5 separate regions of the Homo sapiens genome follow, and all the other regions are linked to region 1. The links are contacts of gene promoters, found by promoter capture Hi-C in blood cells and fetal thymus (Javierre and others, 2016). All regions are on one chromosome and are shown on one strand. The core of a region is centred on a gene start or on the middle of the fragment in contact, and the rest is flanking DNA. Distances in the headings are between cores, read along the strand shown. Region 1 holds the start of HORMAD1 (HORMA domain containing 1). Region 2 overlaps SETDB1 (SET domain bifurcated histone lysine methyltransferase 1). Region 3 overlaps CTXND2 (cortexin domain containing 2). Region 4 overlaps CTXND2 (cortexin domain containing 2). Region 5 overlaps ARNT (aryl hydrocarbon receptor nuclear translocator).

Region 1 (2,877 bases), core at 233-2,732:
GTCAGGAGATCAAGACCATCCTGGCTAACACGGTGAAACCCTGTCTCTACTAAAAATACAAAAAAATTAGCCGGGTGTGGTGGCGGGCGCCTGTAGTCCCAGCTACTTGGGAGGCTGAGGCAGGAGAATGGTGTGAACCCAGGAGGTGGAGCTTGCAGTGAGCCGAGATCGCACCACTGCACTCCAGCCTGGGCGACAGACAGAGCAAGACTCCGTCTCAAAAAAAAAAATTTATATATATATATTAAGATATTAATAGTGTAACCATAATTTTTTTTTTTTGAAACAAGTCTCACTGCCGCCTAGGCAGGAGTGCAGTGGCTCAAACAGGGCTCACTGCCACTGCAAACTCCTGGGCTCAAGGGATCCTCCTGCCTAAGCCTCCTGAGTAGCTGAGACTACAGGTGTGTGCCACAACCTCTGCCTAATTTTTTTTATTTTTTGTAGAGACAGGGTCTCACTTTGTTGCCCAAGCTGATCCCCAATTTCTGGCCTCAAGCAATTGTTCCGCCTCAGCCTCCCAAAGTGCTGGGATTATTGGCATGAGCCACCACATCTAGCCAACATAACTTTTATACACATGGAAAACTAAAAAATTGTGTAATTTGCTTTATTATGTTGTTTGCTTTATTGGAGGGTCTGGAACTGAACTTGCAATATCTCCAAGGTATGCCTGTAATTGAATGTTTACACTGGTAAGAAATGTATTTGGATATATAATAATCTGTAAACTAAGAAGCTTGTACTACTGAATAATCTCCAACTATTAATACCTACCCACTCTGATTTTATTTTGTTTCTAAATGAGACAAATTACATTCAAAGCTATCCATTGTCCCCAATGACATAACACAGTGGAAGTGGCTAAGTAGAAGACTGCTAAAGCAAATGGTTTCCTGAAGATACAGGAGATTGGAAGGTGGGAATGCAATTTGTGGTAGTTCCAATGAGAAAATCAAAAGTCAGCCGGGTGTGGTGGCTCACGCCTGTAATCCCAGCACTTTGGGAGGCCGAGGGAGGCAGGTCACCTGAGGTCGGGAGTTTGAGACCAGCTTGGCCAACATGGCAAAACCCCGTCTCTACTAAAAATACAAAAATTAGCTGGGCATGGTGGCGGACGCCTGTAATCCCAGCTACTTGGGAGGCTGAGGCAGGAGAATTGCTTGAACCCTGGAGGCAGAGGTTGCAGTGAGCCAAGATCATGCCACTGCACTTCAGCCTGGACGACAAGAGCAAAACTCCGTCTCAAAAAAAAAAAAAAAAAAAAAAGAAAGAAAATCAAAAGTCAGAAAAACAATCAGAAATTCAGTAACTGCACATGCAGTTACTTAACCTTCCCCCTTCTGTCTGGCTTTTCCACTGCCTGAGACGTGGCGCTGAGGCTTCCCGTGTCTGAGGCTCCCAGTGCGCCTTGCGCTGCGCTTGGCGGGAAAGGTGACCTCGACCAGGGGTCAAAAAGCCACTGTCGCGCCCCAGCGGGTGACCGTTGAAGGAAAGCGCATGCGCGTCGGGCACAGCGCGTGCAGCCTCGTGCAGCTCTTCTGGTCTCCGGCGCCCGCCCCTCAGACGTAATGTAATATATATTAGTGTGTATATATCTGTGTGTGTGTGCGTATATTTTACTTTTTAATCTCTTTGTCTGTCAGCTTCCCCCTACTTTTAAGTTTCTTAAGGTCTTAGTGGTAAAACATTTGCGGTAAAAATGTATACCCACTTACTTGTCAACAGAGGTTCTTGAGATGGGGTGAGTACGGACGGCGAATTCAGGATTTGTCAGGATAAATTTAAACGTTTAACGTAAATAGGTTCTTCTATGAAGTTTGCCTCTTTAGTAAACTCTTCCAGCTGAATTGTCTGATTAAGAAAAGTGAAACTGGGGCCGGACACAGTGGTTCCGGACACACAACTTCCTGTAATCCCAGCAAGTTGGGCGGCTGAGGCCGGAGGATCATTTGAGACCAGCCTGACCAACATGGCGAAACCCCGTCTCCACTAAAAATAGAAAAAAAAATTAGCGGCCGGGCACGGTGCTTCACGCCTATAATCCCAACACCTTGGGGGCCGAGGCGGGCGGATCACGAGGTCAGGAGTTTCCTGGCCAACATGGTGAAACCCCGTGTCTACTAGAAATACAAAAATTAGCTGGGCGTGGTGGCACGCCTGGAGTCCCAGCTACTCAGGAGGCTCAGGCAGGAGAATCACTTGAACCCAGAGGGGGAGGTTGCGGTGAGCCGAGATCGCGCCATTACACTCCAGCCTGGGCAACAGAGAGAGACACCGTCTCGAAAAAAAAAATTGTATATATATATATGGTGGGCACCTGTGGTCCCAGCTACTCGGGAGGCTGAGGCAGGAGAATCGCTTGAACCCGGGAGGCGGAGCTTGCAGTGAGCTGAGATCGCGCCACTGCACTCCAGCCTGGCGACAGAGCGAAACTCCGTCTCAAAAAAATGAAAAATAAAAACAAATAAAACTGAAAAAGTTTAGAGGGTTTGCCAGGCAATTTTTCATTACTGAATACCTACCTGTACAATGTTGTCATTGTTTGAATTTGTATAGGGAATAAAAATAGGAAGATTGTGCCTTTTTAAAAAGTTCTCTTAAACAGTTTCTTAATAACCCATTTGTTTGAGACTTGCTAGTCAAATGGCTTCAAATCAGGACCCTACTCAAAATGGTTCTACTGCAATATCGACCTCTACGTTTTTGAAGACTCTATTTTAATTAAAGAAATTCAAATTTATTCACATAAAATTGTTTTGAATTTTATATGTGGTAAACTGAAATGTTAGAGGAAAAAAATGAGCTCTAAGTTAAAGCTTGTATTTGTGTCACAAGGTTGAATTAAAGAAAATACTTTATCAGAAGAAGATGGCC
Region 2 (2,877 bases), core at 264-2,763, 240 kb before region 1:
TTTTATCATATTGTTAAAAGACTTTCAAGAAATAATACAAACTGGAGATAGTAGATACACAGGCTCCATTCTAAGAACAAAGTCTGTTAGAAGCAGGAACACTTGGACAAATATGGGATGGGAGGGATGTCAGGCCGAGGTTAGAGTGGTGATCTCTCCCCACCCTTTAGGGCCTTTGGAGGTGGAGAAGGGATCCTGCCTGCTAGCACCACATTGGAAGGGATCATCTGGTCCAGAACCCCCATTTCTATCAACTAGGAGCTGGGGGGAGTAGCTAGCCCAGAGACTTCGGGTCAGGGTTCAACAATCAGGAAGACCCAGTTCCTGAGGAAACGACAGTTCAAGAAGGGTTGGGAAGAAGGCTGTCCTCTAAAGAAGACGTCCTCTGCATTCAATGGCCCCACAGCAACAGAGTAGCTCCTTGCCTTCCACACTGCCCACCTCGTAGTTGTAGTCCCAAGTAAGTTCTGTCCCAGCCCGGATTCTTCTGAAGAGGAAGAAAAGGATGGTGTGTGGCAAAGACAGCAGATAACCCAGGCACTTGGGGTTACTGAATATGTAGGTGGAGTTGGATCATGAATGGAGGAGGGGCCCTTAGAACTTCAGTGGTCCTTGCCCCTCCCCAGTCATCCCCTTTCCTGACTCCTTACTTGCTGGCAAAGAAGGCCACCCAGGGGAAGCGAAGATCATGGGTATCCACGAAGACATTCTGGACAAACAGGTTGGGGCTGCAACTGTGCTGTAGGTTTAAGGACAGGATCAAATAAGAACCAGGGAAACTGAACCTGGCTTTGCAGGGAGAGTGAGAGTTGGAAGAAAAATGATGCCATCTGACCCTCCCCATTATAATAGATGCTTTGAAAGAAAGCTACCTCTTTAAGATCCTTTGAGATCAAGAGTTTATAACAAGAAAAGGGCTTATAGAGTATGTTAAAAGAAATCTGAGGACCATGGGATAATCCAGCATCTAGAGGTGGGGAGAGGGGTCTCACGTTGAGGTAGCGGCCCAGGTTGCCTTCAAGCTTGGCATCAATGATGTAGCAAGACTCCTCGCCATCATAGAATTGGCGTGTGTTCTTACGAACAGGTGCGCTCTCCCCCTTGTCCACAGAGGCCATGTTGGTTGATTTAATTGCAATCCCATGGGTTGATTTAAGAGCAAAGCCTCGGGTTGATTTTACTGCCACTTGACGCTTCATTGGACCTGGACAGGAGGGAGAATGGGGTCAGGACCCATCCCAACTCATGAACAGACATTCTATCATGAATGGACATTCTACCCCTATTTCTCTCCCAACATTGCAGCTGAGAAACACCAATAAGCTGGAACTCAAAGATCCTAAGTAGCAGGTTTTTTTTTCAAGCATAATTAGATCTGCTAGACAAAGGAGCTGAGGGGAAAGAGTAAAAAAATGGAAATGAGAGAGGATGTGTCAAACAATAGTTTAGCTTGGAGTCAGAAAGCCCTCCCAGAGATGCTCCAATTCTTAGGATCTGAATTTTTACCCACTACTTCTTTAGCTTCCTTAAAAAATGCTCTATCCCAAGTTTCTTACTATTTCTTCCCACCATTCCCAAAATTTTTCCAGGCTACCAGTCATGTTCTTCTTGTCCTCAAAGTCATCCCCTTCAGAGCCAGAGGATATGGTCTGGATATCATCACTGTCAACCGCTGTAGCCGAAGTCTGACCAGCAGTGGGCTTTCGGCTGGTCCCACTTTCCCCCTCACTTTCTGTGCTGCTGGACAGTGTCAGGACATCCTGGGGAAGCAGGAGGGTAAGAAGTAAGAGAAGTAAATGGGAAGGGCTCCTTTAAGTCCTTGCTGTTACCCACGGTTTGGCAGGAAAGGGCGGTGGCAAGAGGAAGATTAGATGCTGGATGAAAGAAAATAAGGCAGGAAGTCAAGGCTAAAGAAGTAGGAGAAGACCTAACAGTAATTATAGTGAAGGACTTGATGAGGTGACAATGGCCCATTTTCCTTTATTAGACTCTGAATAAGCTTGAGGTGACTTACATCAGGGTTGGACTGAGCAGAAGCCATGAGTCTTCGGCTTTGATGCATACTAGTCTTACTAGGTGGGCGGCGAAGTCCTTCAGGCTTCACAGGAGAAGGATTGTAACCGTAATTTCGAGAGCTTTCAGTAACTCTAATGGGAGGGGAAGGAATGAAGCCAACAGGTTACTGGCTGTTTCTTAGGCTTCTAGCCTAGGTTTGAGAGAAGGCAGATTTGGAGACAGGTCAAAAAGACAGGCACTGGGCTGGACACGGTAGCTCATGGCTGTAATCCCAGCACTTTGGGAGGCTGAGGATCCCCTTTGGGAGCATCGCTTGAGCCCAGGAGTTCAAGACCAGTCTGGGAAACATGGTGAAACCCCGTGTCTACAAAAAATACAAAAACTAGCCAGGCATGGTGGTGCACACCCGTAGTCCCAGCTACTAGGGAGGCTGAGGTGGGAGAATCTCTTGAGCCTGGGAGGGGGAGGTTGCAATGAGCTGAGATTACGCCACTGCACTCCAGCCTGGGTGACAAAGCAAGACTCTGTCTCAAAACAAAACAAAACAAAAGGCACTTACACTGACATCTTGTTTCGGTCGTCAGTGTCCTGGAAAAGAACAAGTGAAGGGTTAAATGCTTTCACAGCCTCGGGTAACAAGTCCAATAATCAGACTTCAAATGACCTCCACAGATAACATCAGCCAGTGACAGGTACACATTCTAAAGTGGGGTGGGTAAACCACTCTGCAACTTGACAGAAATCCTCACTACACTCCCTGGCTGGAGCCTTTAAGCCTTCTCAGTGATGGGGCTTAATGCTCATGGAAAACACCACGAGCAGGATTACATCAACCAGGGACAGTTTCACCATCTGTAATGT
Region 3 (2,877 bases), core at 214-2,713, 180 kb before region 1:
GGTGGGGGATGAGGGGGTGAAAGTTAAATGATACAGGTTTTCTTTTGGAGGTGATAAAAATGTTCTACAACTGTGGTAATGGTAAAACATTTCTGTGAATGTGCTAAAAACCATTCAATTGTACATTTGAAATGGTTGAATTGTATGTGAATTATATCTTAATAAAGCTGGTTTTTGTAAAACCTTAGTTCAGTTTTAAATTCCTAATCTTATAGAGGATTTAGAGTTCTATTAGCTCTTCTCCCTTTTCAGGCTTCTTCTTCTGCATTGTACAGGATCAGGAAGAAAGGAAGGGGAAAATGTGAAGTGTTTCTCTATTTAATGAATCAGCTGTGGCCAACTGTGAGTAGGTGACCTGGTCTTACTCTGGTTAGATCTGGTGGTTTCAGAGTGAAGGATGTTTGTAGTTTTTTGAGTAGCGTTTCTCTTCATTCTGGACTTTTCTGTCATTGAAGACCCCTTCAAATGGTGCTGCTTATCCTCTATTCTCCCAACCTAAACTCACGTTGGATATCACATGGCTTGGTACAGTGGTCTCCTGGCACCTCCCACTGCTCCTGCTCCTTCGGAGACACCTGAAGTCCTTCAAGGGGAGTGGCCAGACTGTGATGGGTTGGGGGGATTGGCCACATTTTCTTCCTAGGCATACTCTGCCAAGGTACCTATAAACCCTGCCAGCACAGATTATTCCAGTGGGCCTTCCACTTTCAGATCTCTGTAGCCAAGAAATTGACATGATTTTTTATGTTTGCACAGGTTAAAAACTCACACCATGCTTTACTCCAACCTGACCAGAGTGGTTTGGCAGGTTCTACAGTTTAAAGCATCTATCTAGGGAATGAAATGCTGTTAGTCTCTCCTTGCTGGTGTCACCAATTGTACCAATGTCTCTCTTGGCATGCCCTCATCTTTGGCTTTGGGAGGAAGGGGAAGTACTTTTATCTTTGCTTCTCATCACAAATTTTGTACATCCCATAATGCCGATAATGAGAATTCCCAGTTGCCCTCCCAGTTCATTCTTTTTGTTGTTGTTGTTGTTGTTTTTGAGGTAGGGTCTCACTCTGTCACCCAGGCTGGAGTGCAGTGGCATGGTCATAGCTCAATGCAGCCTCAACCTCCTGGGCTCAAGTGATCCTCCTGCCTCAGCCTCCTGGATAGCTGTGACTACAGGTGCCCACCACCATACTTGGCTGATTTTTAAATTTTTTGTAGAGACGAGGCCTTACTATGATGCCCAGGCTGGTTTCAAACTCCTGGGCTCAAGCAACCCTCTGCCCACCTCAGCTTCCCAAAGTGCTGGGATTATAGGCATGAGCCACCACACCCGGCCCCAGTTCATCCTTCTTTTTTTTTTGAGATGGAGTCTCGCTCTGTCGCCCAGCCTGGAGTGCAGTGGTGTGATCTCAGCTCACTGCAAGCTCCGCCTCCCGGGTTCACGCCATTCTCCTGCCTCAGCCTCCCGAGCAGCTGGGACTACAGGTGCCTGCCACCACACCCGGCTAATTTTTTGTATTTTTAGTAAAGATGGGGTTTCACCGTGTTAGCCAGGATGGTCTCGATATCCTGACCTCGTGATCTGCCCGTCTCGGCCTCCCAAAGTGCTGGGATTACAGGCGTGAGCCACTGCGCCCGGCCTTATTCTTTATATATACTGTGGTGGGACAAGGGGTGGGAGTTGGTGGATATACGATTGACTACGCCATCTTCTCATGAGATTTGGAAGAGGTTCTGGCTCTAATTGTTGCAGCTTTCTTTAGATTATAAGTAGTATTGTGCCTTCAATAAGACTTGACCACAATTCTGGGGCAACAGGGTAAGTTGCACTCATATCTTTTACACTGGGTTTTCATGCCACCCCCTGGACTCCTCCCAGATGTGCAGATGGAATGGGCAGATAAGGCCGGGTGCCACGGCTCATGCCTATAATCCCAGCACTTTGGGAGGCCGAGGTTGGGGGGGATCACCTGAGGTCAGGAGTCCGAGACCAGCCTGGCCAACATGGTGAAACCTCATCTCTACTAAAAATACAAAAACTAGCTGGGCATGGTGGTGTGTGCCTGTAGTCCCAGCTACTTGGGAGGCTGATGCAGGAGAATGACTTGAATCCGGGAGGTAGAAGTTGCAGTGAGCCAAAATTACACCCTTGCACTCCAGCCTGGGTAACAGAATGAAACTCGGCCTAAAAAAAAAAAAAAAAAAAGAATTGGCAGATTCTGCAAGTTCCTTATGAAGGGTGATTTGTGTGTGTGTGTGTGTGTGTGTGTGTGTGTGTGTGTGTGTGGTTTTCTTTTTGATTATCTTGTCTTATGATCACACATAATTTTAAAATTTGTGTGTATCTCCTCTACTTTAATCCTTTTAAGTTGGCAAAAGCATCATTCCCAATCACAAATACATAGCAGTTCTACAGTTTTATGTTTCTGAATGGCTGTTTAAAGACTATCCTAAATTATAACTTAGTTTGACAAGCATTCAAGAGTGAAGTTTAACTTGCTACTATTTTAAAAGCATGTGACCTTATAGATCATTTATAAAATGTGAGAAATGCTAAATAATCTTTGATATTACACATAAAACACACTAAAATGTCTTTCAATAAGTAAAAGGAACCATTTTAAATACAGGGAATTCTAATTAGATTGGCATAGTTAAGGCCAAAAATATAAAGTAGACATTACTACCTTATTTATCTTCAACCCTTGCCTTTATGGACACAAAACACAGGTGAATCTTGCTTGGTTCTGAGACAGTGAAGGAATTTCTCCAGTATTCAAATATATTCACATAACCAGTTATATAAATCTAAATATAAAACCAATCTCCAGTAAGTTTGAAGATGGTACTCACCATCTTTGTGAAAAGTTTAACATTACTAAC
Region 4 (2,877 bases), core at 264-2,763, 170 kb before region 1:
CATCTCAATAAATAAATAAATAAATAAATAAAATCTCACATTGGAAGGAAACTTTAAAGGTCATCTTGTACCACCTTCTAATCATTCCTGTAAAGCCCCTGCTTGAGCTCCTTGTGTGACAGGGGCTGGGCACTGACTGTCTCCTGGCTGTCTATCTATTTCAGAAGGTTCTGGAAGGCAGTAATTTTTTACCTTGAGCCAAATCTGTCTTCTTAGTACAGCTTCACTTTTTACTTAGGACTGTTTAAGGCAACACATATCTTTTCCATACACAAGAGTTTCAGTAATTTAAAAATAGCTATTAAGTACGTTTGATTGGTTTCTCAGAGGATGTGGTCTACCACTCTACCCTTTTTCTACTGAAGATTTTCTAGTGTGTCTATATTCCTTTTAAAATGTGGTGCCCAATACAGAATACAAGATGCATGCAAACTCAAGATTATTCATCTAGATACTATACTTCTGTTGCTTAAGACAGGACCATACTGAACCTTGAAAGTCAGGGCAAGGACTTTGAATTTTGTTCTTTCAGGTATCGGGAAGCAATGGAAGGTTTTGAGCAGATAAACATTTTGGGAGCAGGGGCCATATCTTACTGTGTATCCCATTGATTCTAACTAGAATGTAAGCTCTAGGTGTCTGTCCCATTCATAGCATGGATTCAGTGCCTGGGGAGGGCTGGCATATTTTATGTATTTAATACGTCTACATGAATGAATTAATATGAATCTCTATCGGTGTCTGGCACATAGTGCATACAACAGTTCATACTTGTTGAATTCAGGCAGGTAAATGATCAAAGCCATACTTCAGGAAGATAACTGGCAAGAGTGCGTAAAAAGTATTGGAGCTAACACACACTATAGGGTGAAAACAACAAGAGGAGTTTTAGCAGTCTCAACAAGGGGAAACAAGGGCTAGGATAACACAGTGAGTAACAGAAAGGAAAGAATGGATGTGAGATTGTGAAAGAGAATTTGTGACGACCTGGAAATTAAGTGGACATGTAGTGGGAAGAAGAAGGAAGTGATAAAGAAAACTCCTGGGCTTAAATTTGGAAAGCTGAAAGAAAAATGATGCCATTCATAGAATTATTTATTTTAGGAGTTGCTTTTTTTTTTTTTTTTGAGACAGAGTCTTGCTGTGTCGCCCAGGCTGGAGTGCAGTGGTGCGATCTCGGCTCACTGCAAGCTCTGTCTCCCGGGTTCACGCCATTCTCCTGCCTCAGCCTCCCGAGTAGCTGGGACTACAGGTGCCCGCTGCCACGCCCGGCTAAGTTTTTGTAGAGACGGGGTCTCATCCTGTTAGCCAGGATGGTCTCGATCTCCTGACCTCGTGATCCGCCCGCTTCGGCTTCCCAGAGTGCTGGGATTACAGGCGTGAGCCACTGCACCCAGAGGAGTGGCAGATATTTTAAGGTACTAGGATGAAATCAGTCTGAGGTAGGCTGAATTTAAATGCACTGATACAATATGCTCAGGAGGCTAAAATGTGGGACTGGAATTCAGAAGTAGAGTGAGATCGGCTAGGCACGGTGATTCATTCCTATAATCCCAGCCCTTTGAGAGGCTGAGGCGGGTGGATTGCTTGAGCCCAGGAATTCGAGACCAGTCTGGGCAACATAGCAAGACCCCATCTCTACAAAAAAACAAAAACAAAATCAAATTAGCCTGGCGTGGTGGCACGCACCTATAGTCCCTCCCAGCTACTCAGGAGGCTGATGTGAGAGGATCGATTGAGCCCAGGAGGTCAAGGATGCAGTAAGCCATGATCGCACCACTGCACTCCAGCCTGGGTGACAAAGCAAGCCCCTGTCTAAATAAATAAATAAATAAATAATAAAATACATTCTTATTAGAAAGGAAAATGCTGTTTTGTTTCTAAGTATGCCATGTATATTTTTTACTCATTTTCATATGCAGTGATCCAGATTTTGTATGGCCTAAAATTTATACAACATGGGGGTCTCTCTTTAAGGAAAGAATAAAAGATTTAAAATACAAAATTAGGGCCAGGTGCAGTGGCTCACCCCTGTAATCCCAACACTTTGGGAGGCCGAGGTCGCGGGGGATCACCTTCGGTCAGGAGTTCGAGACCAGCCTGGCCAACATGGTGAAACCCTGTCTCTACTAAAAAGTACAAAAAATTAGCCAGGCATGGTGGTGCACGCCTGTAGTCCCAGCTACTCGGGAGGCTGAGGCAGGAGAATTGCTTGAACCTGGGAGGCAGAGGTTGTATTGAGCCAAGATCGCGCCACTGCACTCCAGCCTAGGCGGCAGAGTGAGACTGTCTCAAAAAAAAAAAAAATAAATTAGGTAAAATGTTTTCAAAATGGGGGGAAAAGTCACAACAAATTTAATTCTTATGCAAAATAGCTTTTCTTGAGAAATACACTTTCAAAAATGGTAGAGCTAAAATCTGTTTTCCAAAGGGAATACCTGTCTTAGAATTTTTTTTAAGTGGCTTTTAAGGTTCTTGTTTTGTTTGAGATGAGTAGCAGCACTTCTTGGGATTATAGTAGGAGAAAGGAGGTGTGGTGTGAAGCTATTGGTTTATGTTAAATTTGGACCTACTAAAGTAAGAATCAGAATAATGGCATTTACAAATCCTTGGCAACATCAATTCCACTTTCAGTTCCAGAAAGATCCATTACCTTTTCCTTTCTCTGTGTTCCTTTTCCAGATCACTTCATTCTTCCCACCTGCAATGACCTGCCATTCTTGAAGAAGACCAAAATACTAAAAAGACCCAGTTTTTCTCTCCTGGCCATAAGTTTAGTGCAAAGAGAGAGATGATGGTGAAGAAACACAATAATGCAGCTTTTTTTTACTATAATCCTTAAAATCAAAGACACTCTCTGGCTAATAGGACTAATCA
Region 5 (2,877 bases), core at 111-2,610, 140 kb before region 1:
TTTCTTTTAAGTATTGGAATTTAGGTGATTTTTCCTTTGGGGTTTTCTGTATTTTCCAATCACAATAAATAAAATAAGTTATAAATATTTGTTGCATGAATGAAATGTATAAACCCATTTATGTATGTATTTTTTTAAAATTAGTATATTATTAAGTCTATACAATATTAGTATATTGTTATGTATGTATAAGCTTTTTAACATGAAGTTTGCAGAATATAGTACTTCTTCCAAACTCTATGACATGGGGGGAACTGAAGTATGGGGATATCTTGTACCAGTGTAAGAATTCAAGAAGAGACCGTGTGTGGTGGCTCATGCCTATAATCCCAGCACTTTGGGATGCCAAAGCAGGATGATCTCTTGGAGCTAGGCGTTCAAGACCAGCCTGGGCAACATATCAAGACCCCATCTCTAAAAAAAAAAAAAAAAATTAACTGGGTGTGGTAGTGCGGGCCTATAGTCCTAGCTATTCCAGAAGCTGAGGTGGGAGGATTGCTTGAGCCCAGGAGTTTGAGGCTGTAGTGACCTATACCAGTGATTATACCAGTGCACTCTAGCCCAGGCAACAGAGTGAGACCTGGTCTCAAAAAAAAAAAAAAAAATCAAGAAGAGCAATCTGGATATGAGCATTTGGGATTTTTAGCAAACTGCTGAGATTTTGTCTATAGCTTGAACCTTTCTTTTAGCTAACTTGATGATACTGATGATAAGCAAGGACTGTCTTTTTAAAAATGTTTACTTCATTATTTTCCTGACAGAAATGACATCAGATGTACCATCACTGGGTCCAGCCATTGCCTCTGGAAACTCTGGACCTGGAATTCAAGGTGGAGGAGCCATTGTCCAGAGGGCTATTAAGCGGCGACCAGGGTGAGTTTGAGTGTAGTGTGTTATGAATATCTCTCCTATAAACCAACTTTAGTTGCTGAATTTATTTAGTTGCTGAACTCACTTCGCTATTCCTGACCATCTCACTTCAACTTGATTACTTACTACACTACTGTCATATAAGTCTCCTTAGTCCCTGTATTTTTGTTTATGAAGAATTTGTTTTTATCCAAGTTTCCCGTAAGCAGTTCTTTTTTTAAACCAAAATTTCCGTAAGATAAAGGACTGTAGCTAAGCCCAGAGATTTTACTATGCCTGAGAAAACTGTTTGCTGCTTTCATTAAGCTTTGTTTCTGTTTTCCCAAAATCATTTTGGTAGGCTGCTTTTCTGAATTTAGAGAATGCTGAGCTCTAGAATAGCTGTCTTCTAAGTTATTGATATGTTGCTTGGTTTGGAATGCAGAGTCCATTCAGCTCCAAAAGTATTTATTAAATTCCTAATTAGTGTTATGGCATTGTGCTGATTCCAAGTAGGATACAAAGATGAATAAGACACAGTCCTTGTTTCTAAGTTGGTTGTGTTCTGATAGAAATAATTATTATACACATGAATATATGATAGAATATGCCTAGTTTTGTTAGGAACAAATTTGATACTATGTTTTTCTGTGTATGGAAATATGCATTTGTTGGTAAAGACTGAGAAAAGCTTCAGAAAGGAGGTTGCCTTAGAGGGGCCTGGAAGAATGGGCACTATTTTATTTACTTTTTGGTATTAAATTTTCCTTTTTCCTTCTTTTTCTTTTTAAAAATTGTGCAGCTAATTATAACCAGTCTTTAAGTTTTGTCCCACCAATAGTAATGGAAGAGTGATGCTTGGGTTCAGTGGTAACATGAGTAACATATTAAGACTTGTTATATGTTCAGTAGCTTTACAGATTTTAACCATTTGCTGAAGCATAAGCTGAATAAGTAACTTTCTAAGATTGTAAAGCTAGTAAGTGTCAGATATAGGATATGAACCTTAGGGGTTTAGCTTTGTAGCTTACTCTTTAAACACTGTGTTATGTTTATGTACAGTAACAAACAAAAGTATTATAAATATCAAAATTAGGGCATCACTTGAGAAAGTCATAGTATATTTAAAATGGAATGCTATGTAGTTATAAGCGACAAATATGTTTCAGTGTAGAAAGATGTTCACAATCTATTAAGAAAGGTTACAGTATTATAGTATTTCACTGTCAAAAGATATGTATAACATGTACATAGGAAAAAACTGAAAGAATATATACCACATTTCTGGGTAATAGTATTATGGGTGACTTACGGTTTCTTTTGTTTTTGATTTTTCAGATTTTTGAAATGAACATGTATGATTGGTAATCAGAAAAATATATTAAAGGAAGTCTTTAAAAATTTTCTTTTTGGTTTTTTTAGAGACAGGGTCTTGTACCCTGGCTGGAGTGCAGAGGCACAATCATGGCCCACTGCAGCCTCAAACTCCTGCTCAAGCAGTCCTCCTGCCTTGGCCTCCCAAAGTACTGGGATTACAGGCGTGAGCCACTTCACCTGTCCTAAAAGAAGTCTTTTAATATTTCTTTTATTTTTATTTACTTATTTATTTTCGAGGCAGAGTCTTGCTCTTTTGCCAGGCTGGAGTGCAGTGGTGTGATCTTGGCTCACTGCAATCTCCACCTCTCTGGTTCAAGGGATTCTCCTGCCTCAGCCTCCCAAGCAGCTGGGACTACAGGCGTGCGCCACCACGCCCAGCTAATTTTTGTATTTTTAGTAGAGATGGGATTTCACCACGTTGGCCAGGCTGGTCTCGAACTCCTGACCTCAGGTGATATGCCCACCTTGGCCTCCCAAAGTGCTGGGATTACAGGCATGAGCCACCATGCCCGGCCTAATATTTCTTTTATTTATTTATTTTATTTTTTATTTTTTTGAGATGGAGTCTCGCTCTGTCGCCCAGGCTGGAGTGCAGTAGTGTGATCTCAGCTCACTGTAACCTCCACCTCCCAGGTTCACGCCATTCTCCTG

The links. The method cuts DNA at HindIII sites, captures the fragments that hold promoters and counts their contacts. A CHiCAGO score of 5 or more calls a contact.
Region 2: a contact is called between a fragment that was not itself captured here and the fragment with the promoter of HORMAD1 in region 1, in 1 of 17 cell types (M1 macrophages). The highest score is 5.1, in M1 macrophages.
Region 3: a contact is called between a fragment that was not itself captured here and the fragment with the promoter of HORMAD1 in region 1, in 2 of 17 cell types (M2 macrophages and erythroblasts). The highest score is 6.7, in M2 macrophages.
Region 4: a contact is called between a fragment that was not itself captured here and the fragment with the promoter of HORMAD1 in region 1, in 1 of 17 cell types (endothelial precursors). The highest score is 5.1, in endothelial precursors.
Region 5: a fragment that was not itself captured here is called in contact with the fragment with the promoter of HORMAD1 in region 1 in 4 of 17 cell types (M1 macrophages, endothelial precursors, M2 macrophages and 1 more); the score reaches 7.1 in M1 macrophages.

What each region holds. Positions count from the first base shown.
Region 1 is chr1:150,719,500-150,722,376 of GRCh38, reverse strand. HORMAD1 (HORMA domain containing 1) reads left to right here and starts at 1,482. Exons shown (of 15, transcript NM_032132.5): 1 at 1,482-1,573; 2 at 2,839-2,877. The coding sequence starts at 2,872. The HindIII fragment of the contact is 2,080 bases long and covers 742-2,821 here.
Region 2 is chr1:150,961,857-150,964,733 of GRCh38, reverse strand. SETDB1 (SET domain bifurcated histone lysine methyltransferase 1) reads right to left here. Exons shown (of 22, transcript NM_001366418.1): 17 at 2,576-2,604; 18 at 2,015-2,147; 19 at 1,595-1,760; 20 at 993-1,204; 21 at 651-739; 22 at 1-487. The coding sequence ends at 370. Among named protein-coding and RNA genes, the nearest start is that of CERS2, 12 kb to the left of the region's middle. The HindIII fragment of the contact is 977 bases long and covers 1,025-2,001 here.
Region 3 is chr1:150,904,467-150,907,343 of GRCh38, reverse strand. The region is part of intron 1 of CTXND2 (cortexin domain containing 2); the gene reads right to left. LOC107985204 (a long non-coding RNA gene) reads left to right here. Exons shown (of 3, transcript XR_001738231.2): 2 at 253-342. Among named protein-coding and RNA genes, the nearest start is that of CTXND2, 19 kb to the right of the region's middle. The HindIII fragment of the contact is 6,110 bases long and covers 1-2,877 here.
Region 4 is chr1:150,887,650-150,890,526 of GRCh38, reverse strand. All of the region lies in intron 1 of CTXND2 (cortexin domain containing 2), which reads right to left. It also overlaps a transcript of LOC107985204 not described here. Among named protein-coding and RNA genes, the nearest start is that of CTXND2, 2.0 kb to the right of the region's middle. The HindIII fragment of the contact is 3,730 bases long and covers 1-2,877 here.
Region 5 is chr1:150,856,345-150,859,221 of GRCh38, reverse strand. ARNT (aryl hydrocarbon receptor nuclear translocator) reads left to right here. Exons shown (of 22, transcript NM_001668.4): 2 at 762-873. Among named protein-coding and RNA genes, the nearest start is that of ARNT, 19 kb to the left of the region's middle. The HindIII fragment of the contact is 364 bases long and covers 1,179-1,542 here.